7 separate regions of the Homo sapiens genome follow, and all the other regions are linked to region 7. Evidence: promoter capture Hi-C in 16 types of primary human blood cells and fetal thymus (Javierre and others, 2016). All regions are on one chromosome and are shown on one strand. The core of a region is centred on a gene start or on the middle of the fragment in contact, and the rest is flanking DNA. Distances in the headings are between cores, read along the strand shown.

Region 1 (3,683 bases), core at 811-3,310, 420 kb before region 7:
TATGTTACTAAAAGATAAGATGCTTAAAAAACACACAATCACCAAATAACTGTTAGAACTAATAAACTAACACAGTGAAGCTGTAAAGTCAACACACAAAAATCAGTCATGTTTCTGTATGTTAGCTAACTATCTGAAAAAGAAATCAAGAAGATAATCCCATTCACAATAGCCACGCGAAAAAATACTTAGGAATAAATTCAACGGAGAAGGTGAAAGAGCTGTATGCTGAAATCTATAAAACAATGAACCAAGAAATGGAACAAGATACAAATAGATGGGATTTTATCCATGTTCATGGATTGGAAGAATTAATATCGTGCAAATGTCCATACTACCCAAAGCTATTCAATGCAGCCTTTGTCAACATTCCAGTGACTTCTCACAGAAAAAGAAAAAACAGGGAACACACCTTTGGTTTATACCAAAAGCTGTGTCTCCCTGCCCCCCCACCCCCACCCCCTGCCAAAACAAAAGAAAAAACAATTCTAAAATTCAGGTGAAACCACAAAAGACCCCAAATAGCTAAAGTGATCTTGAGCAAGAAGATCAAAGCTGAAGGCATCACACTACCTAATTTCAAAATATATTACAAGCTACAGTAATTAAAATAGCATTGTACTGGCATAAAAATAGACACATTGGGCTAGGCATGGTGGCTCATGCCTGTAATTCTAGCATTTTGGGAGGCTGAGGTGGGAGGATTGCTTGAGGCCAGAAGTTTGAAGCTAGCCTGGGCAACATAGCAAGACCTTGTCTCTACAAAAAAAAAAAAAAAAAATTAAAAATTTGCCGAGTGTGGTGGCAGGAGCCTGTCGTCCCAGCTACTTGGGAGGCTGAGGTGGGAGGATTGCGTGAGCCTAGGAGCTTGAGGTTGCAGTGAGCTATGATTGTGCCACTGTACACCAGCCTAGGTGACAGAGTGAGCCAATTAAAATATATATATATATTTATAATTTCTTTTTTATAGAGATAGGGCCATCTAAAGTGCTGGGATTACAGGCATGAGCTACCATGCCTGGCCCATAAGACTCTGTTTCTGGAAAAAAAAAAAAAAAAAAAGACGTATCAACCAATGGAACAGGATAGAGAGCTCAGAAATGAACCCATGAATATATTTACAGCCCAATGATTTGTTTGTTTGTTTGTTGTTCAGATAGTGTCTCACTCTGTCACCTAGCCTGGAGTGCAGTGGTGGGATCTTGGCTCACTGCAAACTCTGCCTCCCATGCTCAAGCCATGCCCCTACTTCAGCCTCCTGAGTCACTGGGACAACAGGTGCATGCCACCTTTGGCTAATTTTTGTATTTTTTGTAGAGATGGGGTTTCAACATGCTGCCCAGGCTGGTCTCGAACTCCTGAGCTCAAGGGCTCTGCCTGCCTCGGCCTCCCAAAATGCTGGGATCACAGGCATGGGCCACTGTGCCTGCCCAGTCCATTGATTTTTTTGACAAAGATGCCAAGGACCCACTATGGGAAAAGGATAGCCTCTTCAATAAATGGTGTTGAGAAGACTGGGTTTTCACAGGCAGGAGGATGAAATTAGATCCTTACATATAAAAACCAACTCAAAATGGACTGAAGACTTAAACATAAGACCTGAAACTATAGAACTACTAGAAGAAAATATAGGGAAAAAGCTATGTGATACTGGTCTGGGCAATTATTATTATTATTTTTGACTCCAAAATCTCATGCAACAAAAGCAAAAATAGACAAATAGGATGATGTCAAACTTAAAAGCCTCTGCATGGCAAAGAAAACAGGTAACAGAAGAGACAACCGATAGACTGGGAGAAAATATTTGCAAGCCAAACATCTGAAAAGAAGTTAATATCCAAAATAGATAAGGAACTCAATAACAGCAACAACAACAACAAACCCAATTAAAAAATGGGCAAAGAACCTGAATAGGCATTTTTCAAAAGAACCCATGCAAATGACCAACAGGTATACAAAAAAATGTTCAACATTACTAATCATTAGGGAAATGCATATTAAAACCACAGTGAGGTATCATCTCACACCTGTTAGAATGGCTATTATTAAAAAGACAAGAGAAGCCAGGCGTGGTGGCTCACGCCTGTAATTCCAGCACTTTGGGAGGCTAAGGCAGGAGGATTGCTTGAGCCTGGGAGTTTGAGACCAGCCTGGGCAACATAGGGAGAACCCATCTCTACAAAAAATAAAAAAACAAGGCAGGTGTGGCAGCGTGCACCTGTAGTTCTACCTAGTCAGGAGGCTGAGGTGGGAGGATCACTTGAGCCCAGAATTCAGAGGCTGCAGTGAGCTATGATCACATCACTGCACTCCAGCTTGGGCAAGACCCTGTCTCCAAAAAAAAAGAGACAGGTGTTGGAGATAATGTGGAGAAAAGGAAACCCTTGAGCACTGTTGGTGGGAATGCAAATTAGCACAGCCATTATGGAAAATAGTAGGAACCTCCCTTCCTTCCGCTTGTGGGTACATATCCAAAGGATTTGAAAGCAGCATGTCAAAGAGATATCTGCACTCCCATAATCATTGCAGCATTATTCATAATAGCCAAGATCTAGAAACAAGTGTCCATTAATGGATGAAGAAAATGTGACATATATACACAATGAGATACTATTTAGCCTTAAGAAAGAAGGAACAACATGGGTGAACCTAATGGACATTACACTAAGTAAAATAAGCTAGGCACAGAAGGACAAATACTGCACGATCTCACTTATGTGTGGAATCCAAGAAATCTAGGCTGTGTGCGGTGGCTCATGCCTGTCATCTCAGCTCTTTGGGAGGCTAAGGTGGGAGAATTGCTTGAGGCTAGGAGTTCAAAACGCATGGGCAACATAGCACCCCACCTGTACAAAACAAAACAAATGCAAAAGACCACCACCAACAAAAAAATCCAATTGAACTCAGAAGCAGCAAGTGGAAGGGTGGTTACCAGAGGCTGTGTGTAGGTAAGGGGGGCAGGGGTGGGATGGGGAGAGATAGAGAGAGGTCAGTCAAAGGATACAAAGTTTCAGTGGAGGAATAAGTTTTTTGAGACCTATTGCACAGCATGGTGACTATAGTTAATGTACATTTCAAAATTACTAAGAGGGTAATTTCAAATGTTTTCACCACAAACAGTGCTAAATACTTGAGGTGATATGTTAATTAGCTTCATTTCATCATTCTCCATTGTATATATGTAACGTCACCTTGTATCCCATAAATATATACAATTATAACTGATCAATTTACAATAAAATTAAAAAAACAAACATTTTACCACACATATTGCTAAACATTAGCAGTAATTCTTTAAGATCGTAACTATCCATTCGGTGTTCAAACTTCCAATTGTTTTGTAAATGTCATATATATATATATTTATATTTTATATATTAGATTTATCTTTTTTTTTCTTTTTTTGAGACAGGGTGTCTGTTGCCCAGGCTAGAGTGCAGTGATGCGATTTCGGTCCACTGCAACCTCTACCTCCCAGGCTCAGGTGATCCTCCCACCTCAGCCTCCCTAATAGCTGGGACCACAGGCATGCACCACCACACCAGGCTAATTTTTTTGTATTTTTTGTAGAGACAGGATTTCACCACGTTGCCCAGGCTGGTCTCGAACTTCTGGACTCAAGTGATACGCTTGCCTCGGCCTCCCAAGGTGCTGGGATTAGGGACGTGAGCCACCGTGCCTGG
Region 2 (3,939 bases), core at 335-2,834, 460 kb before region 7:
TTTGTGGGCATTCAAAGAGAGGGCACTGTCAGTCACCTTATTATACTTTAAATTCTCTTTAGATGAAAAATGAAGGAACAACTTCTAATTGTTATTCTTTTTTCATCGAAATATTTCATGAGCAAACATACTAAAATAAACAGACACAGACAATAGAAAAACACCTTGGAGACTTCCAGATAAGTAGGGAGTAGAATCTGTTTAACCCTAAAAGCATAGTAGAAAAGGCATTCACTTATTTGGATGGGTTCATGTTTGGTGGCTGTTTCTCCTTCTTGGGTCCTTATTGCCTTGATTACAACCAATTGTCAGCAATTAATGAGGCTTTAATGAGATGATTCTGAAGTCCTGAGAGGCAGCAAGCATAGTAATATATCTTTGAATTCATGAGCAGAAGGGTGCAAGGAGACAATGTATTTTCTTTTTGAATTTCTCCTTTCCTGTTTGATTTTGCATGTCTCTTTGTGCTTTTTCCAGCTTCATGTGGGCTTGAAAGTAAGCAGAAAGTAAATTCCTTCCATGCTTTTCTGAAGTTCTGTTTGCTTGCTTGTGTCCTGATTTTTGTGAGCAATATTTTTTCTTGATATAATTGTAAAATAGATTCTGCGTTATTGGACTTCAGTGGAAGTGCTTTTAGTCATTTGCTTTAATGTGTAAACTTTGAAAATGAGTAAGGAAAGGGGGTGAAGAGATAGAGTAGTTGCCTAGGAACCATTTTCTGGCTTATTGAGCTGCCTTATAAACATTAATAGTTCTATGTGTTTATTCATTGAGGAAACATTACATTGATTGGGAGCCTGCTCTGTTCAAAAGTATTGGGCCAAAGGACACGAAGACTTTTCAGCAAGACGATCCTTGCTTTTTAGGGGCTCATAATTTAGAGTGAGAAATAGATATATAGCTAATATAAACCCAAAAAATATAGAAGTATTTCTGATGTAACTTGGGGTTTCACTCTTAGGAGTGAACAGGGCACTATTTCTTTTGTTTGCATAACTGTTTATGTATGGAATGGGATAATTCTTGATGGGCCAGAATACATTCCGGCAACTGATACACCATAATGAAGTACCAACTGCATGATTCACATATTCAGAGACTGGGGAGCTTTGGGGACAGCTCACAGCTCAGCTTCCAGGCACAACTCTGGTGGGATAACTATGGCCCTTGCTCTCCTGGAAGAGAGTCATCAACATTTAGTGCATATTAAGCACAGTCAGGCTTACTATGTTACGTATATTTCTTTTAAAGGTAACGATGTTGGAAGGAGTTCATATGGGGCCATGCAAGTGAAGCAGGCCTTTGATTATGCCTACGTTGTTTTGAGTCATGCTGTATCACCAATAGCAAAGTACTATCCCAACAATGAAACAGAAAGGTAAAAGTTCATCTATAACCAGCCCATTGTGTCAAAATTAGTTGTGGCTTCTTATCTTCAAATTAATGTTATTCCCTCCCTCTCCCTTTCTTTTTAAACACATGCAGCATACTAGGTAGAATAATTAGAGTAACAGATGAAGTTGCCACATATAGAGATTGGATATCAAAGCAGTGGGGCTTGAAGAATAGACCTGAGCCTTCATGCAATGGTAAGATATTTTCCTTGGTCGATTGACTGAGTATTAGAGGCTTTTCTGTGTTGTGTGCGTTTAATGGGAAGAAACGTTTTCCAATCTTTTGCCACTCTTTCAGGAAATGGTGTTACCTTGATAGTAGATACTCAGCAGTTAGATAAATGTAATAATAATCTATCTGAAGAAAATGAAGCCCTTGGAAAATGTAGAAGTAAAACCTCGGAATCTCTTAGTAAACACTCTTCAAACTCTTCATCAGGTCCAGTGTCGTCCTCTTCTGCCACACAGTCCAGCTCTAGTGATGTAGTAAGTATGAAAGCCTCGGCTCTTCTGAACTCAGATGCATGCACGTTCTCTTGCTGGGGTTAACACTGTCTCGAAGGCTAAGGCTACTTCCTTTGCTTACATGTTACTGGGATATTTTAATAACTTTCATGCTTGTACATTTTCTCAACATTTTGTTATGAAAAAGTTCAAGCATATAGTAAAAGTGAACAAATTTTAGTGAGCATTCATGTACTCACCAGTAGATTCTGCTATTAACCTTTTACTTGCTTATGTCATACCTGTCTATCCATCACTCTATCCATTAATTCATCTTATTCTTTGATCCATTTCAAAGTAGATTACAGACATCAGTTCCCCTAGAGTACTGTAGCTTGTGCATCCTTGTAGCCAGACTCCAGTATTTGTTTATTGTTTTTTCCTTTTTTTTTTTTTTGAGACGGGATCTCCCTCTGTCACCCAGGCTGGAGTGCAGTGGTATGATCTCGGCTCACTGCAACCTCCGCCTCCCATGTTCAAACGATTCTCCTGCCTCAACCTCCTGAGTAGCTGGGATTACAGGTGCGTACCACCATACCCAGCTAATTTTTTGTATTTTTAGTAGAGACGGGGTTTCACCATGTTGGTCAGGCTGGTCCTGAACTCCTGATCTTGTGATCCACCCGCCTCAACCTCCTAAATTGCTGGGATTACAGGCATGAGCCACCACACCTGGCCTTTAACGTTTTTCTTTTCTTTTCTTTTCTTTTTTTTGAGACGGAGTCTTGCTCTGTCACCCAGGCTGGAATGTAATGGCATGATCTTCACTCACCTCAACCTTCGCCTCCTGGGTTCAAGCGATTCTCCTGCCTCAGCCTCCTGAGTATCTAGGATTACAGGCATGTGCCACCACACCCAGCTAATTTTTTGTATTTTTAGTAGAGATGGGGTTTCACCATGTTGGCCAGGCTGGTCTCGAATTCCTGACCTCAAGAGATCCACCCGCCTCAGCCTCCCAAAGTGCTGGGATTACAGGCGTGAGCCCAGCTGTTATGACTTTTTAACACCATAGTTAGTTTTGCCTGTTTCAGAATTTCATACAAATGGAACCACATAGAATATAGTCTTGTGTAAGGCTTCTTTCACTCAATTTTTTTTCAGCTTTCTGGTTGAATTTTTTGTTGTTGTTGTTTTGTTTTGTTTTTTGAGACGGAGTCTCGCTCTGTCGCCCAGGCTGGAGTGCAGTGGCGCGATCTTGGCTCACTGCAAGCTCCGCCTCCCGGGTTCATGCCATTCTGCCTCAGCCTCCCAAGTAGCTGGGACTACAGGTGCCCGCCACCACACCCGGCTAATTTTTTGTATTTTTAGTAGAGCCAGGGTTTCACCGTGGTCTTGATCGCCTGACCTCATGATCCGACTGCCTCGGCCTCCCAAAGTGCTGGGATTACAGGCGTGAGCCACCACGCCTGGCCAAATTTTTTTTTAGTTGAGATATAGTTAACATAAAATTCAGCATTAAAAATGTACAATTCAGTGGTTTTTAGAACATATTCACAATGTTGTGCAGCCATCTCCAGTAATTCTAGAACATTTCCATCACCCCAAGAAGAAACCCTGCATTTAGCAGTAGTTTCTTCTAATTCTTCCTTCCCTCCCTTAACCTCTGGTAACCTCTAATCTACTTTCTCTTTCTATCCTGATAGAATTTTTTTTGTTCCCCCATCCTGATAGAATTTATGTGTCAATTATAATGTAAGTTACCTTTTAAAATCAAAGTGAATTTGTAGTGTACTGATTTGAGATCTAAAGCAGGCTTACCTGTTTGAGTTTAACTTTATTAAGTGTAGGACATGAAAAGTAATCTAAATATTGTATGTTGTTGATGATGACCATGTGTCAATATGGAATCATAAATCCTCCTGTGCAGAATCTCCCTGTGTGCTTTTTTGGTTCCTAGAGCAGTATGCTTTGGAGGACAGAAGCCAAGCTAGATGTCACAGACACAGGGAGATGGAGTGTTGGGGACTGAGAGAATGTGACTCTGACATGCTGGGTAGAGTGCCAGGGCCAGGGTGGAGACCTGCAGAGAGACGTAGCATTG
Region 3 (4,108 bases), core at 546-3,045, 400 kb before region 7:
TGGAAGAACTGGTGATTGGACAGGAGGCCTTGAAAACTTCCCGGGCAGGGGGTGCCTCTGGGTCTGGCTTTGGCGGGGTGGCTCCTAGGGAGGAGCTGGCCTGGGGACATGCCACTGGTGGTGGGTTCCTGGGCCCCCTCTGGAGATGTGATCAGTGAGTTCATTCCCCCCAGGCCTCACGGTGCCCGGCTTGTTCCAGGAGCTGGCCAAGGTCCCTGGATGGGCTGAAGTCCTTGTGCCCATGTTGTCCACTGTCCACCTGCGCCTGCCTGCCGTTGCCCAGAAAGTGGCCTAATGAGTTCCTTGAGAGGCGTGTTTACCAGGCCTGTGTTCCCACGGGCCCTTGGGACTCTCTCAGCTGGTTCCTCCCTTTCCTCGTGGTGGCCCAGCCTGGCTTTGTGTGCCTGGAGCGGGTGTGTCCACACACTCTCACACTTGCACTTTCATGCACGTGTCTGGCCGCCTCAGCTCTGGTCTGGGGGCTTTGCCTGGGAGATGGAGCAGTTGTGGGGAGTGGCCTCAGCCCTCTGGTGTTTGGAGCTTCTCAGCCTGGCTGTCCTGGTGCACTGGTGTTTGGCAGCAGGCCAGGGGTCAGGTGGGTTTGCTGTTTGTGTGCTGTGGCATCTGGCTCAGTCCCCCGGGATGTCAGTGGGCAAGCCTGGGCTGAGGAGCCCTGGTTTGGGAGCTGGCAGACCTGGGTTTGCATCCCAGCCTATCTGTCCACCAGCTCCAGCAGTGTGATCTTAGGCAACCACTCTGCCTCTCTGGGCTCAGTTCTGCATCTGTGAGACGGTGGTGCCACCTTGGCCTTTGCCGGTTGTGAAGATGAGAGTGAATGTGTGTGCAGGTGCCGGGGGTGACAGGAACTGCTGCTGTTATTACTGCAAAGGGCTATTTTGGGGTGGGGGGTGCTGAATTGAATGTATCTCAGGCAGGGACCTTATCTTGTTTGGCAACCCCCACAGCACAGGGTTGGATGTATATGGTTAGCACACAGTAAATGCCTCTTGTGGAATACAGACTGATTAGTTTAGATTTAGAGGTTGTAAACTAGTGGGCTGCAAATATTGAAAAATTTGAAATCAGCTGCCAACATTTAAAAATCATCATTTCACGTAGAAATCAGATTTGTAGCCTGTCTGAGCACTTTGGGCACTTTGACAGCTCTTGGCCACATCCCTGAAGGGTTGCCCCTCGTTGAACAGGTGCCAAGGCCTGTAGACACCTGCCCAGGCACTGAAGGGGATGGGGCCCCCAGCAAATGACCCCTTCCTCCTTCCCCAAATATGTGGTTTTACCATTTTGTTCCTGGTGTGTGGTGATGGAATAGGAACTTCCAGAGGAAATAGAGCCTGAGGTGGCTCCTGGAATTGAGGTGGCCCCAGGGATCTCATACTAGCAGGTGCTGGTTGGGGACTTGGGGACCCTGGATATCCTGCTTTTTGCCTTTGGGGGCTGGGGGCTCACCTGGCCATCTTCCCTCCGCTGGACCAGCTGTCCTTTGAAGCTTCTGCTGGCGGCTGGCCATTTGTGCCCTGTGACTGCTCTGAGCTGTCCCGTGTCTCACAGCCTCCCTGCCCTCTGCCTCTGGCCCTGTCCTGGTTCCAATCTGAGGCAGGCCTGGAGGACACTGGGGGCGTGGACTCTTGGTCCAGGGTTGCCCCCTTCATGCAAGGTTCCTGCTGGGAATATGGCAGCTGTCCCCAAGTCCCCATTGCTGTGTGAGGGATTGCACAATTTTGGTAATTTTCCTACCTTTGGAGACTGATGGGGATCCCTGGGGAGAGAGAGCCCAGACTAGCACACAGGAGATATAAGGGCTGGCAGGCGTAGGTGTGATTCACAAGCCTTTTTGGAATCAATGAATATGCTAAGGAATGAATGGTGCTGGGGAAAGAAGGAACCCATATGGGCTGAGCATGGCAAGTGTGGGGTCAGCTCACAGTGTTGTCACAAAGGGGCCACTGTGTCCCTCTCTGAGACTCAGCTCCCTTTTCTGTGAAGCACGGCTTGCAGACATCTGAAATTTGTATCAGTGGGCTATTTAAAAAAATAAACAAGATTTTTGCTGGGTACAGTGCCTGAAAGCTTAACACTTCGGAGGCTGAGGAGGGTAGATTGCTTGAGCTTAGGAGTTCAAGACTAGCCTGGGCAACATGGCAAAACCCCATCTCTACAAAAAATACATGGCCTACTGCAGCCTAAGTCTCCCCAGGCTCAGGTAATTCTCCCACCTTAGCCTCCTGCATAGCTGAGGTCCCAGCTACGCAGGAGTCTGAGGTGGGAGGATTGCCTGAGCCCTGGGAGGTTGAGGCTGCAGCGGGCTATGATCACACCACTTCACTCCAGCCTGGGTGACAGAGTGAGACCCCATCTCAAAAAAAAAAAAAAAAAGAGAGAAAGAAAATGCAGTTTTATGTGGAGCTTACTGTAACACAGATGCAGGGGGCTACCCTGGCTGAAGCAGGCATGGGGGCCTGAGCCTATGCCCCCCCACCTTCCCTTCCCATTGGGGGCCTGATGCATGTCCCCAAATCTCAGGGCTCCTAGGATCACAGCTTGGAACCCTCTGTGCCTGGAGGCATGAGACTCACTGGAAAATGAAGTGAATGTGGTGATTGCACCAGGACCATGGGGACAGAGCAGAGCCTGGAAACAGACACCATCTGTGTGTGATCACCTGACTTATGACAGAGGTGGCTCCACTGAAATTCAGAGAGAGGATGGCCGGTTCACTGAACACTGCTGGGATAATTCAATATCCATATGGAAAAAAGAAGTGAACCTTGATCCCTACCTCACACCATACCCAGAGTGAATCGAAATGGATCAGAGACCTTTGTGTGAAAGCAAAACAGTGAAACATGCAGAGCAGAGCTGGCCTGTAGAAGCTTCTGTGATGATAGACATTCTCTGTTTATCTGTGCTGTCCAGTACAGCAGCTGCATGTAGCCATTGGGTATTTGATTTTTTTTTTTTTTTGAGATGGAGTCTCACTCTGTTGCCCAGGCTGGATGCAATGGCACGATCTCAGCTTACTGCAAAATTTGCCTCCCAGGTTCAAGCCATTCTCCTGCCTCAGCTTCCCGAGTAGCTGGGATTACAGGCACACGTCACCATGTCCGGCTAATTTTTGTATTTTTAGTGGAGGGGGGTTTTACCACGTGGGCCAGGCTGGTCTCGAACTCCTGACCTCAGGTGATCTGCCTGCCTCGACCTCTCAAAGTGCTGGGATTACAGGCATGAGCCACCATGCCTGGCTGGCTGTTGAGTATTTGAAATGTGGCTAGTGTGACTGAGGGACTGAATTTCTAATTTTATTTTAAATTAATTTAAATTTAATTTAAAATAGTGGCTGGGCATGGTGGCTCATGCCTGTTATCCCAGCACTTTGGGAGGCTGAGGCAGGAGGATTGCTTGAGCCCACGAGTTCAAAACCACCCTGGGCAGCAGGGGGAGACGCCCATCTCTACAAAAGAGAATTTAAAAATTAGCTGCACACCTGTAGTCCCAGCTACGTAGGAGGCTGAGGTGGGAGAATCACTTGAGCCCGGGAGTTTGAGGCTGCAGTGAGCTATGATCGTGCCACTGCACTCCAGCCTGGGCAACAGAGTGAGGCCCTGTCTTGAAAAAAAAAAAAAAAAGCAGCCACATGTGGCTAGTGGCTACTATCTTGGACAGTGCAGTCCTAGAAGACACAGGGGACTAGCTTTACGACAACAGGACATAAAAGTTAGGTTAGGGTTAAGATGGATAAATCAGACTTGGTGCTGTGAGGCCTGGGCCCCGCTCTCCCTGATGCTAGCCCTCCCCTGACTTGGACCATTAGGTCAAGTTCCTGTCTGCTTCGTCTCCGCAGAGCTGAGGAACTGCGTGTGGAGTCAGCCCAGTCTGGATGCACAGGAGGATGCTGGCGGCACAGTGAGTGAGGCCTGGTGCCAGAGCTGTGCGGACCCCTTGTTGGCCATGGAGCAGCAGGCCCAGAGGCCCTCTCCCCAGCCCTGCTTGCCTGCCTCGGAGAGGACAGAGGCCTAGGCCCACGGGGGAGGGTGTTGGCAGACAGATGCCCTCCAGGCCCTGGGGCCTCCTTAACGGCCCCTTAACGACA
Region 4 (3,780 bases), core at 168-2,667, 500 kb before region 7:
CAGTAATTCAGTAATTAGAATAATGCTTGCCAGGGCCTGTGGGGAGGAGGGAATGAGGAATTCATGTTTAATGGGTACAGAGTTTCATTTGGAAAAGATTAAAAAGTTATGGAGGTGGATGGTGGTGAGGATTGCACAACAGTGTGAATGTACTTAATACCACTGAACTGTACACCTAAAAATGATTAAAATGGTACATTTTATGTTACATATGTTTTACAACAATTTTTACAGATGGAAAAAAATTATAAAAAACATCAGGATGGTGTTGACAGTGAAAAGGTTAAAGAGTTACTTTAAAAATTTACTTTATTCCAGCCGGGTGCGGTGGCTCACACCTGTAATCCCAGCACTTTGGGAGACCGAGGCGGGTGGATCACCTGAGGTCAGGAGTTTGAGACCAGCCTGACCAACATGGAGAAACCCCGTCTCTACTAAAAATACAAAATTAGCCAGGTGTGGTGGCGCATGCCTGTAATCCCAGCTACTTGGGAGGCTGAGGCAGGAGAATCGCTTGAACCCGGGTGGTGGAGGTTGCAGTGAGCCGAGATCTTGCCATTGCACTCCAGCCTGGGCAACAAAGCGCAACTCCGTCTCAAAAGAAAATTTTTTTTTTTTACTTTATCCCAAATGTTTATATTTACTTTGGGGCTTATGTGACCAGTTTAATTTTCATTTGTAATTGACTTGATAGAACACACTAATGTTCAGTTAAGATTTCTTATGGTGTGGTGAGGAGTAGGATTTTTATGTAAATAAGCCCAAAATTGTATATATGAGGTTAATCTGATATTTGCAGAAGATATTCATGCATTACTGTAAGGACCACTCTGCTTATTCATTTGACCGATTTGTTACAACATGGTTAGAAATCATCAAGGTGTTTGAGATCAAAGGATCTTCAGAGGTGATTTACTCCAATCCTTTTTTAAAAAATTAATAACTTGAGCCTCAGAGAAGTTAAGTGACATTACCAAGTTCTGCTGTTAGTATAGTGACTTTATCTTTACCTGAATCCAGGGTTTCTTAGCCCTAGTCTGTAATGTGTCCTAGTGTGCCTCTAGAATCTGGTCCTGTCAGCCCAAGTCTGTTAAATCAAATAAAACCAGGGCTTGGTGCTTCACCTTGTCTTCTGCCATACCGTTGGGTTTCCTGTGGACCATGCAGATAATGATGATGGGCTCAGTGGGCTTGATAGTGATAACTCCTAAAGCAGCTCCTTCTAAGTGCGGTTCTCAATCTGAGGAAGTTAAAAAAAAAATTAGTGACTAGAACCCACTTCTCAGGTACTCTGATAAAATACATTTGTAGGGGAGTGATAGTTTTCACTTTCTTTTTTTCTTTTTCTTTTTTTTTTGAGATGGCGTCTCGCTCTTTTGCCCAGGCTGGAGTGCAATGGTGCGATCTCAGCTTACTGCAACCTCTGCCTCCCAGTTTCAAGTGATTCTTCTGCCTTAGCTTCCTGAGTAGCTGAGATTACAGGTGTGTGCCACCATGCCTGGCTAATTTTTGTATTTTTATTAGAGACGGGATTTCACCATGGTTGGTCAGGTTGGTCTCGAACTCCTAACCTTGTGATCTGCCTGCCTCAGCCTCCCAGAGTGCTGGGATTACAGGCATGAGCCACTGTGCCCAGCCTTCACATATTTTTTGAAATAATAGGCCAGTTGCGGTGGTTCATGCCTGTAATCTCACACTTTGGGAGGCCGAGGTGGGCAGATCACTTGAGGCCAGGAGTTCAAGGCCACCCTGGCCAACATGGCGAAACCCTGTTTCTACTAAAAATACAAAAAAATTAGCCGGGTATGATGGCATGTGCCTGTGGTCCCAGCTACTCTGGAAGTTGAGGCATGAGAATCGCTTTAACTTAGGAGGTGGAGGTTGCAGTGAGGCAAGATCGTGCCCCTGCACTCCAGCCTGGGTGACAGAGCGAGACTCCATCTCAAAAAAAAAAAAAAAAATCGTATGCAGTAAAGGTTGAAAACTGCTGCCCAAAGGCGCTATTAAACTATAGGTTCCCAAACCTGGCCAATTGTCAAAATCCCTCAAGAAGGGGCAGTGGGGTCTAAGGGACCCCATTGCTGTAGAGGAGATTAGTAGTCCAAGAGTGAGATGAACTGTTGGAAGTCCTCAAACTTCCAAACTATTAAAATAGAATAGTTTTGCTTCCTTAAAATAGAATAGTTTTCTTCCTCACTGATTTTTCTGTATTGATTAGAACCATAACAAGTGAATTAAACAACTACAAAATAGTTATGTGGGCCACAGACATTATTGTAATGAAGTGAAGTTTGGCTCAGGCCTTGTAACACAATTGCTTTTTGGATTAAAAGTAAAAATATTAAATTGTGAAATTATGTGTAAGTTTTAAAAAATTGGTCTTGTACAAAAGTGTTGGGTTTTTCTTTGTTTTTAACTGGATTTGTTTTTAAGCAAGACAGAATATTTATATTGTTGGAGAGTCACAAAGGAGGTGTGTTTGTGGATTTAAATGTGGAGACAGTGTGCCTTGAAATGCCCTTTATCAGTCTGATTCAAGCCACCTGCAATCATGGATTTGAACTTTTTTTTTTTTTTCCCCTGAGATAGGGTTGCCTAGGCTGGGGTGCAGTGGTGTGATCTTGGCTCACTGCAACCTCTGGCTCAGCCTCTTGGAGTACCTGGGACTATAGGCACACAACATCATATCCAGCTATTGTATTTTTTTTTTTTTTTTTTTTTATAGAGACAGAGTTTCACCATGTTGTCCAGGCTGGTCTTGAACTCCTGAGCTCAAGCAACTCACCTGCCTCGGCCTTCCAGAGTGCTGAGATTATAGGTGTGAGCCACCATGCCCAGCCTTCACTTTATTTAAAAACCATAGTTTTTAAAAGCCACATTCCTACTGATGAACACAGAGGTTGTTTCCAGTGTTTTCATTTGCAGGGCTGTAGTGATTGTTTTTGCACATGCCTCTTTATGTACATGTGCTGTGTCTTCTGGGACAGAGAGTGGACATTTTAAGTGTTTTATTGGTCCTGCTAAATTGTCTTTCAGCCAAACTGCTGCAGAGGTGATGGAGATGAGGTGGGTACTCAGGAGAATTATGCTCAGTGCTTGTGTGCTAGTCACTGACCTGGAAACATTTTATTAAAAATGCTAGATTAGGTTAGTGATGTAAATACCAGGTGATAGTAACCAGAATAATTGTGTCAAAACATCAAGAATCATCAAGAGATGCCAGGCATGGTGGCTCATGCCTGTAATCTCAGCCCTTTAGTAGGAGGCCGAGGTGGGCAGATTGCTTGAGCTCAGGAGTTCAAGACCAGCCTAGGCAACATGGTGAAACCCTGTCTCTACCAAAAATACAAAAATTTGCTGGATGCAGTGGTACGTGCATGTGGTCCCAGCTACTCAGTAGGCTGAGGCGGGAGGATCGCTTGAGCCTGGGAGGCAGAGGTTGCAGTGAGCCAAGACTACACTACAGCCCGGGCAACAGAGTGAAACCCTGCCATAAAAAAAGGAGAAAAAGAATCATCAAGAGAAAACTTAATTTGATGTGCTCTGCGTTTTCTTTGGTGCTTCATGTCAGTGTTAGAAACTATAGGTTGTATATTTATTAATTTTTCTCCTACATTTGTTCAACTTGACTAAAATATTAACTCCAAATGCCTAGAATTTCAAAATACCTCTTCGTTATAAAGTATCAACTATTTCTTAGTCCCCTTAAGCTGATAGTATTGTGTCATTGTAAAAGATCCCTTGTGAAAAATAATTTTTGTCAACATGAAAGGTCTTAAT
Region 5 (3,565 bases), core at 90-2,589, 480 kb before region 7:
CGCTTCTCTTGGTGTCTAGGCAGGCTTGAAGAAAATCAAACAGTACAAAATCATGCAAATTCAGACCTCTATTCCACCCCAGAGGAAAGTCCTGCTAGCAGTTTTTGTGTATTCTTCCAGAAATTTGCCTTGCAACGCGTTTGAGTATATAAATAATCCCAGAAAGGATGGGCCAGACACTAGCAGAAACTCACCACACACACTGCACTGGGCATGCAGAAACTTTGCAAAATGTACTGGTGTGTGCTGTCACTGCATTCCTGGGTTTGGAGGTCTTCTGTGTCCCCAGCTGTCAGTATTGCCCACAGGCTGACCACTGAGCTCCTTCCACAGCCGGCCCATATCACCCTCTTTCGAAGTGTGTCTGCAAGGCTAGATTATTAGAGTAATTTAAGTGTTTCTGCTTTGTGTTTTCTTTAATGAATTTTTTTATGATGAAGTTCTTGTTTTAAAAATATACAGTGGTAATTAACATGTATGCATTTTTCTTAAAATGACCCCCCCAGTCCCTCTTCGGATGTGATCACTGTTAACAGTATCGTATATAGACCCTGTTCTGTGTGGGGCGGGCAGAGGGCTGGTTAGTGGGTGGAACATGCATACTCACAACCATATTTTTCACATGGGAAAATATAAAGGTGACAACAAATCTCCTGGACTATAATCTCATCAAGCAGACAATAATCTCTGTTTCAAAAGTGGACAAATACATGCTGATTTTTTAAAAAAAATTATAATAGTACAGAAAGATACAAAAATAAGTTAAAGTCTTCCTAACTCTCCTGCCTGTGCCCTCCACTGGGCAAAAGTCCCTGTCCCTAAGGTAATATCTGTTAACAGTTCTCCTTCCAGAAAACTTGCAATGCAAATAGGAACATTTTGTGTGTCTGCCTCTGTGTGTATGTGTTTACATGTCTTTTTTTTTTTTTTTTTTTTTTTTTTTTTTTTTTTTTTTTTTTTTTTTTTGAGACAGAGTCTTGCTCTGTTATCCAGGCTGGAGTGCAGTGGCATGATCTCAGCTTGCTGTGATCTCTGCCTCCTGGGTTCAAGTGATTCTCATGCCTCAGCCTCCCGAGTAGCTGGAATTACAGGCGCCTGCCACCACACCCAGCTAATTTTTGTATTTTTAGTAGAGATGGGGTTTCGCCATGTTGGCCAGGCTGGTCTGAAACTCCTGACATCAAGTGATCTACCCGCCTCAGCCTCCCAAAGTGCTGGGATTACAGGTGTGAGCCACTGCTTCTGCCCCTGCACATGTCTAACGCACACAAAAGAGATTCTGCTGAACACATTTTTTATGCTTTTTCTTTCCAATTTAACATATTTGACATCTTTATCAGCTTATATAGCTTTATTTTTTTAAGAGGTTATTGGCTATAAAGGGAAAGTGCTTTATGGGTGCTTCTGTTGTTATTTAATTGGATCCTGTTGATGGACATTGATATCATTTCTAAATTTTTTAGTATCCTAATTAATCCTGTGGTGAGCATCCTTATACAGATATCCTTGTTCCCTCATGAAAATATTTCTGGAGGATGGAAAGAAGGGAAATTTTAAAAATTATTTGTGTAAACATTATCGTTTGTTAGTAGAATGACCTCAGGAGAGATTGTAGTAATTTATACTTCCCCACATGCATATGAATGCCTTTTCAATATATTGTTTCAAAATTGGATATCATGAACCTTAAGAGATAAATATATATGTATGTATTTTTTTTTTTTTTTTTTTTTTGGTGGGGGCATGTCCTGTTATTGACAGTTTGTTTTGGTGGAGGGATGTCCTGTTATTGACAGTTATCGAATAGAACTTTGTCAGTTCCTTCATGTAAGGGATGAATTTGGTAATAAAACAGGTCTGACTTCAGTTATGGAACTGGGAAAGCTGGACCTTGATGTGGAGGTGGGCTCAGACATGCTGTGTCTGGGCAGGTATCTCTTGGGAAGCAGTGTCATCCCTGAACAGAAACATGGATGAGCCGCAGGGGACGGTGCTGAGCAGAGGGGCTGGCCGTGGGTCATCTGCCTCCCTTGGCCTAGAAGGCACAAGGGAGCTTTCCACCTTGCCTTTGGTTTTGAGAATGCAGAAGCTACTAAGCAACTCACAGTGTGCCCAGGGTGGTCCAGCTGAAGGATGCGAAATGGTTCTTCCTTTTCCAGCCAAAGATCTTGAACCTCCCACCCCATGACAAGCATTATAAAATTCACATAATTTTGATAGGCTGGATTCCTTTTCTGTAGCAGATCTTTCCTCAGAACAGAAGTTTGTTTTTTTTTTTTAACCTAAATTACCTGTGAGTTTTATTTTTTAAATATGGAATCTGTTTTTTGGACACCTCCTTGTCATATTAAATGTTCTGTTATTAATTTTGAGATTTTAATGTAAATTTTACCCCAGCAAATTAATTTTGTTTCTCTTGCTCTCTCTTTTTTTTTTTTTGGCATCCTTTCCCGTTGTATAGTGGTGCTCATTTTATCATACTGCTTTTATATGACTTTTCTTTTGTGAACAGGGATCTTGTTCACTTTTCCTTTTTTAAAAATTTTTTTATTTTTTTGAGACGGAGTCTTGCTCTGTTGCCCAGGCTGGAGAACAGAGGCACAATCTCAGCCCACTGCAAGTTTTGTCTTCCGGGCTCAAGCGATTCTCCCACCTTAGCCTCTTGAGTAGCTGGGATTACAGGCGTGCACCATCACGCCTGGCTAATTTTTTTGTATTTTTGTAGAGATGGGGTTTCACTATGTCATCCAGGCTGGTCTCGAACTCCTGGACTCAAGCGATCCACCCGCCTCAGCCTCACAAAATGCTAGGGTTACAGGCGTGAGCCACTGTGCCCGAGCCACTTTTCCTTTTAACATAAAAACATTGATATCCTAGAGAGGGCACTGTATTTTGGGTACATACAGGTTCAGATCACGGAAGAGTTGTATTCTATACTTTTTTTCATCATTCTTAGTTCAGTATGATGTATTTTATAATTTCATATGAGAAACTGTAACAATGGGCATGTGTCATCCAGCAATACCTACTCATAAATCATATTAAATTTTGATCCAAACATGGGAGAAACTGAAGTTTTCTCTGTGTACTTGGATGCTTTCAGAGGCATAAAATTATATTACCATGTGAAAGCAAGCCTACAAAATTCCTCAGGTGGTCCACTCTGCCACTCAAATGAGAGCCAGACTTACAGTGCACACTCTACAAACGGACTTCCAGCTCGTCAGGGTATTTTAAGTGCCTGAATATGCAAGGCACTGTGCCAGTAAAATTACTCAGTCCTGAGGATAGAGCCTGTTAGAATTATTTTAAAATCTGTACTTGAAGTTTATTTCCTCAGTATTCCAAGATATTTTATCTGGTTGTTCTCTGAGTATTTCACACGTAGCTAGTTACATATAGGTGAGATGGTGATGCTTGTGCCTGGTGTGGATGAGAAACTGAGCCTGGCAGACCCGAGATTGGATTTCCTCTTCTGACTTTGCAAGTGTGGCTTTGCTTTAATAATAGCCCTCCTCTTTTTCTGTATTCCTCTTTTCTCCTTCCAGTGTGGCAAATATGCATC
Region 6 (3,779 bases), core at 1,056-3,555, 360 kb before region 7:
CACACATCTTTGCGTTCTCCCCTGCCGTCCTTCAACTGTATCTTACTTTTCTTACCAGAAAGGAATGGAGTCTGTTTAGAGACAACTTGGACAACCTGTGAGTGCATCTCTTCTTTCCTTTAGTCTTCACAGCTAACTCTGGAGAGCTTCAAAACTAGAAGGATCTACTCCGCATGGGTGCATGCAGAGGCTCCTGGATCTGGGAAGCCCGCCCCCTCACAAATGCTGAGCCGTTCTTGCTCTGAAACTGCGTGAGTCAAGGCAAATGCAAAAAGCCAGGTTTTGGGGATGTGTCTTACTGTGCTTCAACTTCCCAAGGAATTGAAAGTCAACCTAACTGTAACAACAGGGTGAGAAATGACCAAACTGCCCGTGACTTTTTCTGAATGGACTTCATAACCGGAAGACTTAACCGGTGGCCTCATCACCAGAGCATCGCCAGGATTTCTAATGCACTCAGTTTCCCTACATAGCAGGGATTCTTAGCTAGGTGTCCCCATGAACCCCGTAAAGTTCTACACAAAGTCTTGCATACAGGAGCCTTTACAAGATGATTATACAGGGTTGCAGATTGGGTGACTGACCAGACTTGTTGGGGTCCTGGGATGAGTTGCCCCGGGCTGCAAATTAAGAGTACAGCTAAGTGCGGGGGTGGCGGTGGAGGGAACGAAAATTGAACCTGTCTGCCTGTGCTGTGTCGTGTGGCTTTATCAGCCCGAGGAAGGGCAGGTGTATTCTAATTTGCACAAAGGTGCTGGGTAGACTAGTGGCAGCTCTCATGTGCTGCACATAAGTGGAATCAGTATGAATAGAAGAACTTGCTGTATAAAGGAATTTCATGGCAACAATGCTGGTAAGGGCAATTAGCCTCGCTTAAGTTGCCTTTTTTACACACCAAAACTTTTTACATGAAGGGCTGGTTTCACATGAATACTATACTGAAATCTGTGCTCTCAAGATCTAGCAGTGACCAGGGCTGCCCGGCGGGGGCTCTCCTGGCAAGTCAGGAAGGTTTCTGTTGCTAATATAACATAGAAACACATTAGTGCACTGGGCCTCTCTGAGGTCAGCATATTTGTACTCTTGGAATATTTGTTTTTTTCTTCAGTAACAACAGAAACCCCAGTTGGGAGTTTAACAAATAACTGACTACCACTCACTCATGCATTTTTATTTCCAATTAAAGCAAAGCACTGTGCTGTGCTCAGATAATAATAGTTTGTAAGTAAAAGTTTTTAGTTTTCAGTGTTCAGGTTATAGAATATAACTGACCATAAAAATTACCTGCAGGTATTTTCTTTTTATGAACTTGTTTTTAAATTACCAAGTAATTACTGGTGTCATTTTGTTTTATGACAGACACACGTATCTAACAAACAAACAAACAGTGACCTTCTCCATGGGTCAAGGACTTCCTTACAATTTCTCCTGAGTTAACTTTTGTGAAAATAATACCTAAGGTTTTCTGGCTTATTGAGGAAATTTCCTAACAAACAAACAAACAAACAAACAGAAGAGAAGATCATTAACCACTGTATACTTTGTGTATATAATAGGTCAGTGTAAAGAAATATGATTTGAGGTGGTGCATGCAAGTAACTAGGGTTTATTCTATATAATGAATATTTATAGATCTGTAACATTTGTTTCAAAATGCTGTTTCATTTTTATAAAGTACCAGTGTTTAGCTGCTTTTTATACATTAAATTAGCAATTTGAAAAACTCAAATATCTGAAGGTATTTTATTTTCGTGGTCCTCATGAACTCACTAGAGATTAAAAGTAGACTCAAACAACTTGAAAATTTGACTCTTTTAGCATAAGATTTTAAGTCTTTTGAGGGAATTAATTTTCCTTTACCCTATTTGTTCTTCCTAAATACTAATTAATTTTCAAAGTCAGGAAAATAATAGAAATCAAATGGCTTCCTGCCTGGGTGATTTATAGAAGGATTGTATAAGGGCCTTCAAACTTAATTTGTTCACTGAACAAGGCTATCTATCTATCTATCTCCATCCTGATTTTTTTCCCTTGTGTATAACAGGTTCTATACCGATTCAGCAAAATCACCATTTATCTCAGCTTGCTGATAAAAGGGGGCCATGAATCTTGTGGTCTCCTACTTAGAGTTCAACTCCTTGGGTACTTGACCTTTGTATTTCAGATAAACAGTAAGTAAAGTAGAAATGTCACCTTTTGGTAATCTGGTAATTCCCTGATCTATTCAAGGATGACTTAGTTTATCTTATTTGGCTTATTACTTTGCTATAGTACTAAGTAACTCCTCTTTCTTTAAAAAACGGAAAAAACCAAAAAAGAACACTAGCCATGTGACAGTGCTATAAAACTCCCAGTGTGCTTTTGTCAGGGGTGGGTGGGAGGTGCCTAATTACCCATACAAGGGCATCATTCCCACTGGGTATGCAGGGGCAGAACCACAGTAGTAAATTCTAAAATTATTTCAAGTATGTTCGTATAACGGAAAATCTCACTGGATGGGGCCGTTTTAAGAACGCTTCTTAGTGATGATCCTGTCTGTGGGACATAAGGAAGAAGCATTGGAAGGCACTATTTTGAAAGAATGCTGCACAGGTATGGCAACAGCCCCAAGCACATTCCTTCCTCACGAGTCCCAGGTCCAGCTTTATTACCTAATACAAGTCCAACCTCTGGAACATCCAAATTCGCTGTTCCAAAGTTTAATTAAAAACACAATTTACAAATATTTAATATCTTCTGAAAAGCATTTCTAAGTTAAGAATGAAAAAGTATGTACATAATATATAATCAAATACCAGGCAGCCTCAACTTCCACCAGGTCCACACTCAGCAACATCCGTCTTTTTAGGTTCTTCAGTGTCTGAAAGAAAAAGACATCACTTAATTCAACATTGTTTTTACCTTTTAATTAAAAAGGGGACATGAAAGTCAAGCTGCCATCCAGAAGCATAACTGCTGAGAGCCCTTCTTCACCACATCCAAGGCTGAAGACTACGCGCATTATCAGGTGATCATTGTGGCTCTTCTGCACACAGGAAATCTTTATTAATTCTTTAGACAAGATAAAAAGAAAACTAAGAGTAGTTTATACATTAAAAACAGATAAATGTTCCTTTTACAGTTGACCCTTCTTATCCATGGGTTCCACATCTGCAGATTCAACCAACTGCCAATTAAAAATATTTGGGGAAAAAACCCAATTAAAAAAATACAACAAACAATGAAAAAAATATAAAAAATACAGTCTATTAACTACATTCTATGAAGTATATAAGTAGAGATGATTTGAAGTATACTGGAGGTTGTGTGTAGGGTATAGGCAAATACCTTTTATGTTAGGGACTTGAGCATCTACAGATTTTGCTATCTTTGTGGGGTAAATACCAAATCCGAGGTCCTGATACCAATCTCGGGCAGACACTGAGGGATGACTATAGTCACCATAGCTTTCTGCTTTCCCAGAGAAAACAGGGCACGTACCTTCTGTCAAATCCACAAAGTTGTTTTCCATGACGGGGGAAGGAATGGAAATCCCCATTGCTTTTCGAACTCCATACGTGCTTACGATATCACCTGGAGTTACTTGCTGTGCAAGTTCTTTAAGATTATTGGTCACTTGTTCAGCTAAAAAGAAAAACAAAGTTCCAGATACTAAAGCATGGTTCCTTTAGATAGAGGCATCCCAAAGAACAGTAAATGTACACATGCAAAGAAAACAAAACAAAAAAACTGTCCCTGGGATTCACATCAGCATTACTCTATAGTGGCATCACCACTGT
Region 7 (3,668 bases), core at 135-2,634:
CAGCTGGCTCCAGGTCAGAAGCAGGGCACTATTGGCCCAGAGACCCTGTAAGACCCTAGAAATGATGCCTCGGCTTGACACTCCAGTAAAGACTGAGAAAGCTGATTATAAAACCAGGCCTTAGAATAAAATCAAATTCAGCAGCCACAGTCAGCTCCCTTATGGTTGTCTCTTACAGGTTTCATTGGGAGTCACCCATTTAAAGAGGAGGGGGAAGGAAAGAGTTGTGCACTGGTGTATCCATGGGGCCTTGGGTAGCTTCCCATCCCTCTCCAGGCCTCAGTTTCCTCATCTGTGAAATGGGAAAGCAATCCTGTCACTCTAAAAGCTCTCTGGGGATAGCCACATAGACGGTTCCATGGCCCTTTCCTTCCCTCTCCTCACCCTCTGTAGCAAAGATTTCTTGACTTTATAACAAAATACTAAAAGTGTTGTTGCTGTTGGCCTGGGGGCCTGTAGTTGGCCCAGGGGACAGAGCAGCTTCCCAGCCTCCTCTGCCTTCCAGCCGTGTGTGCACAGACAGTCATTCTCCTCCTCCTGTCCCCAGGTGTCCTAACCACCCCCTCTCCAAGAGCTGACTGCCAAGTCCAGTCCTTCTTCTGCTGGGCACACAGAGGCCACACTATCTTTCTGAGGGCCTGCGGAGGACTTTTCATGGGGGATGAGCCTCTAGGGGGTGAAATAAAGCACATGGCCCACGCTGGGAGACAGAGATCCCAGGATGTTGGATGTGTGGCTGCCTCTCTTGGGGAAAGGGTGGGTACCCTCCAACAACTGGACGCTCACCTGAGAAGCCTTGCCAAAGCCAGGGGCTCCCAACCCAGTGTGTGTAAGAATCCCCTGGTGGGGTGGGGGTGGGATCCCAGGGGCTTGTCCAAGAGCAGGTTTCCTGGCTGCTAACATAGGAAGGTGCCATTGAACAGGCCTGGATTCTGCATTTTCCATGAGTCCTCTAAGGCTGTGCTGAGGCAGGGGTTCCCTGACACTGTTCTTTTGAGAAACACAGGTGTGGTGACTTATTCTCCAGGCCCAAGATGGGTTGTACAAGCGCCTAGCATTTCAAAAGGAATGGAGGTGATGGAAGGTCCAGGAGCTGTCCCTTCCTCTGCCTCAGTGTGCTAAGGAGAGCTCCAGACACAGTGGCTGTCACTAACTCTTCCCCCTCCCACCCTGCCCCCAGCAGGTGCCAGGCAGGGCCCCAGGAGAAGGGGACTCAGGCCACAGCAGGCAGAGGACAGCTGAGCTTGGGATCAAATACTGACCTCCAGTCTCCAGGGCTGTGTGTGTCCAGGGGTCCGGGAGGAGTGTCATATGGCCCCTTCGAGCTCTTGGTTCTCAGCTCCGGCGACAAGCCGAGGGGCTGCCACTTTCTAAGTTCCCCGTTTGAAAACAGGAAACAGGCTGTGTGACCTGCTTCTGATCGCCCCAGCCCATTGGCTGGTGAAACATGGTATATTGAACTCAACTGCCAGCCTGCCAGCTGTACCCACCTCTTCTTCCGGGTAGCGCAGGGAAGGGCAAGGCGGTGTGGGGCCAGCCCTGTGGGATTTAGCTCAGCCTCACTTTCCCTGCCGCCTTGCAGAGGTCTGGCTGTCCTTCGAGTCCCCGTTGATCTCTGGAATTCAGGCATTAGCTCCCAGAGCCCTTTAACATTCATTATTCTACTCTATGAGCTAGGCATGATGGGGGCCGTCATGCCCCTTGAACAGATGGGAAAACCGAGGCTTGGATCACAGAGCTGGTGGGACACAGAGCCAGTGACTGACATAGAAGAGCAGTGGGGTAGAATTACAGTTCCATCTGGTGCCTTTTCTCTGAGCAAAGCTGTATCCATCACCACCAACAGAAAGTCCCAGGGAAGCGAAACCCCAGGGCAGTGTGGTGTGATTCATGCCCACCCATCTTTGTGGCCTTGAAGGCAAGAAACAGAAATCAGACAAAAAAAAAAAAAATAGAACTTTGCTGGCTCGCCCAGAAGTTTGCCATGTGTTTTTTTTTGAGCCATGATTCCCTTCCTCCCTATTAGAGGCAGTCACAGTCCTGATTCAGATGGGGGTTACTTCTTGGCTTTTCCTTAGAAATTTACCACCTATGAGATCCCCAAACAATTCAGTTTCATTTTACTCATCTGTGAATCTTATATAAATTGAACCATGCATACTGTGTGTATTCTCCAGTGCCTTGCTTCTTTCATGCAACATTTATGGGTATAAGATTCACTGATGCATTTCTGTGTAGATACTTTTTTTCATTTCCATTGTTGTGTTGCTACATTATTATTATTATTTATTTTACTTTAAGTTCTGGGATACCAGTGTAGAACCTGCAGGTTTGTTACATAGGTATATATGTGCCGTGGTGGTTTGCTGTACCTATCAACCCATCATCTAGGTTTTAAGCCCTGCATGCATTAGGTATTTGTCTTAATGCTCTCCTTCCCCCTGGCCCCCACCCCTGACAGGCCCCAGCGTGTGATGTTCCCCTCCCTGTGTCCATGTGTTCTCACTGTTCAACTCCCACTTATGAGTGAGAACATGCTGTGTTTGGTTTTCTGTTGCTTCATTATTTAAATACATCACCATTTGTCATTTTTTGTTTTGTCTTTTGATGCACACTTGGGTTGTTCCTAGGGTGGCCATCATGATCAATGCCACTGATGATATTCTTACACATTTATCCAAGTCCATGTACTTATCTGAGGTGAAATTGCTGGGTCTCAGAGTATAGATAGCTTCAACTGTGCTAGATTACGCCAAATATTTTCCACAGTGGCTGTGCCATTTTGTATTCCCACCAGCAGTATATGAGAATTCCAGGTGCTCCACCTTCTTACCTGCACTTGATATGGTCATTATTATAATTATTTTAAAGATGGGGTCTTGCTCTATCACCCAGGCTGGAGTGCAATGGTACCATCATAGCTGACTGCAACCTAGAACTCCTGGGCTCAAATGATCCTCCCACCTCAGCCTCCTGAGTGGCTAAGACTACAGTTACGTCACCATGCTTGGCTAATAAATTTTTTTTGTTTCTGGAGGGATAGACCATCATGGCCACTATGTTGCCCAGGCTGGTCTTGAACTCCTGGCCCCAAGCAATCCTCCTGCCTTGGGCTCCCAAAGTACTGAGATTACCAATGTGAGCCACTGTGTCTGGTTTGGTCAGTGTTTTTCAGTGTACCACTGCATTAATGTGCAGTGGTCTCTCATCAAGGTTTTAAGTTGCATTTCCCTAAGGACTAATGATGTTGAGCATCTTTTCATGGGCTTATTTGCCATCCTTATACCTTCTCCAATGAAGTGTCTGTTCAAGGTCATTGCTCATTATTGACTTGATTATTTTTAATGGTTTGTAGGTGTTCTTTATGTATTCATTTGGGTTTATGTGCTTCTCAATATCCTTTTCCATCCTGCAGTTTGCATTTTGTACTCTCTTAATGGAGTTTTGTGACGAATAGAAGTTGTCAACTTTAAAGAACCATATTAGTCCTTTGATATGGTTGAATTTCAACTTTCCTAATTGCAACATGAAATTTAATGAAGTCCTCCTAGTGCCAAAACATTCCGCCTTGAGCCAGTGTCATCCTTGGAGGGCATGAAGGTTTCTCCTGTATTTGCTTCTGCAACAAGCTCATAGGCTTGTGAACCTCAAGAGGAGTTCAGATGAGC

The links. Contacts are between HindIII fragments. The CHiCAGO score rates a contact against its expected background, and 5 or more counts as called.
Region 1: a fragment that was not itself captured here is called in contact with the fragment with the promoter of SNX20 in region 7 in 4 of 17 cell types (total CD4 T cells, neutrophils, total CD8 T cells and 1 more); the score reaches 6.7 in total CD4 T cells.
Region 2: a contact is called between a fragment that was not itself captured here and the fragment with the promoter of SNX20 in region 7, in 6 of 17 cell types (total CD4 T cells, naive CD8 T cells, neutrophils and 3 more). The highest score is 9.5, in total CD4 T cells.
Region 3: a fragment that was not itself captured here is called in contact with the fragment with the promoter of SNX20 in region 7 in 9 of 17 cell types (activated CD4 T cells, non-activated CD4 T cells, monocytes and 6 more); the score reaches 12.3 in activated CD4 T cells.
Region 4: a contact is called between a fragment that was not itself captured here and the fragment with the promoter of SNX20 in region 7, in 5 of 17 cell types (total CD8 T cells, non-activated CD4 T cells, monocytes and 2 more). The highest score is 8.6, in total CD8 T cells.
Region 5: a fragment that was not itself captured here is called in contact with the fragment with the promoter of SNX20 in region 7 in 10 of 17 cell types (total CD4 T cells, non-activated CD4 T cells, total CD8 T cells and 7 more); the score reaches 11.7 in total CD4 T cells.
Region 6: a contact is called between a fragment that was not itself captured here and the fragment with the promoter of SNX20 in region 7, in 6 of 17 cell types (naive CD8 T cells, total CD4 T cells, naive CD4 T cells and 3 more). The highest score is 7.8, in naive CD8 T cells.

The regions. Positions count from the first base shown.
Region 1 is chr16:50,254,360-50,258,042 of GRCh38, forward strand. It overlaps a transcript of ADCY7 not described here. Among named protein-coding and RNA genes, the nearest start is that of ADCY7, 10 kb to the right of the region's middle. RefSeq lists an enhancer at 1-324. The HindIII fragment of the contact is 8,884 bases long and covers 1-3,683 here.
Region 2 is chr16:50,223,406-50,227,344 of GRCh38, forward strand. It overlaps TENT4B (terminal nucleotidyltransferase 4B), which reads left to right. Exons shown (of 12, transcript NM_001365324.3): 8 at 1,252-1,378; 9 at 1,486-1,589; 10 at 1,693-1,880. Among named protein-coding and RNA genes, the nearest start is that of ADCY7, 41 kb to the right of the region's middle. The HindIII fragment of the contact is 8,159 bases long and covers 1-3,939 here.
Region 3 is chr16:50,284,053-50,288,160 of GRCh38, forward strand. ADCY7 (adenylate cyclase 7) reads left to right here. Exons shown (of 26, transcript NM_001114.5): 2 at 3,860-4,108. Among named protein-coding and RNA genes, the nearest start is that of MIR6771, 6.5 kb to the right of the region's middle. RefSeq lists an enhancer at 1-383. The HindIII fragment of the contact is 581 bases long and covers 1,506-2,086 here.
Region 4 is chr16:50,178,765-50,182,544 of GRCh38, forward strand. The region is part of intron 1 of TENT4B (terminal nucleotidyltransferase 4B); the gene reads left to right. Among named protein-coding and RNA genes, the nearest start is that of TENT4B, 27 kb to the left of the region's middle. The HindIII fragment of the contact is 5,075 bases long and covers 1-3,780 here.
Region 5 is chr16:50,204,643-50,208,207 of GRCh38, forward strand. The region is part of intron 1 of TENT4B (terminal nucleotidyltransferase 4B); the gene reads left to right. Among named protein-coding and RNA genes, the nearest start is that of TENT4B, 53 kb to the left of the region's middle. The HindIII fragment of the contact is 6,724 bases long and covers 1-3,565 here.
Region 6 is chr16:50,316,407-50,320,185 of GRCh38, forward strand. It overlaps ADCY7 (adenylate cyclase 7), which reads left to right. Exons shown (of 26, transcript NM_001114.5): 26 at 1-1,729. BRD7 (bromodomain containing 7) reads right to left here. Exons shown (of 17, transcript NM_013263.5): 16 at 3,481-3,624; 17 at 1-2,860. The coding sequence ends at 2,805. Among named protein-coding and RNA genes, the nearest start is that of MIR6771, 26 kb to the left of the region's middle. RefSeq lists an enhancer at 2,688-3,779. The HindIII fragment of the contact is 7,497 bases long and covers 1-3,779 here.
Region 7 is chr16:50,679,928-50,683,595 of GRCh38, forward strand. It overlaps SNX20 (sorting nexin 20), which reads right to left and starts at 1,385. Exons shown (of 4, transcript NM_182854.4): 1 at 1,263-1,385. The HindIII fragment of the contact is 15,976 bases long and covers 1-3,668 here.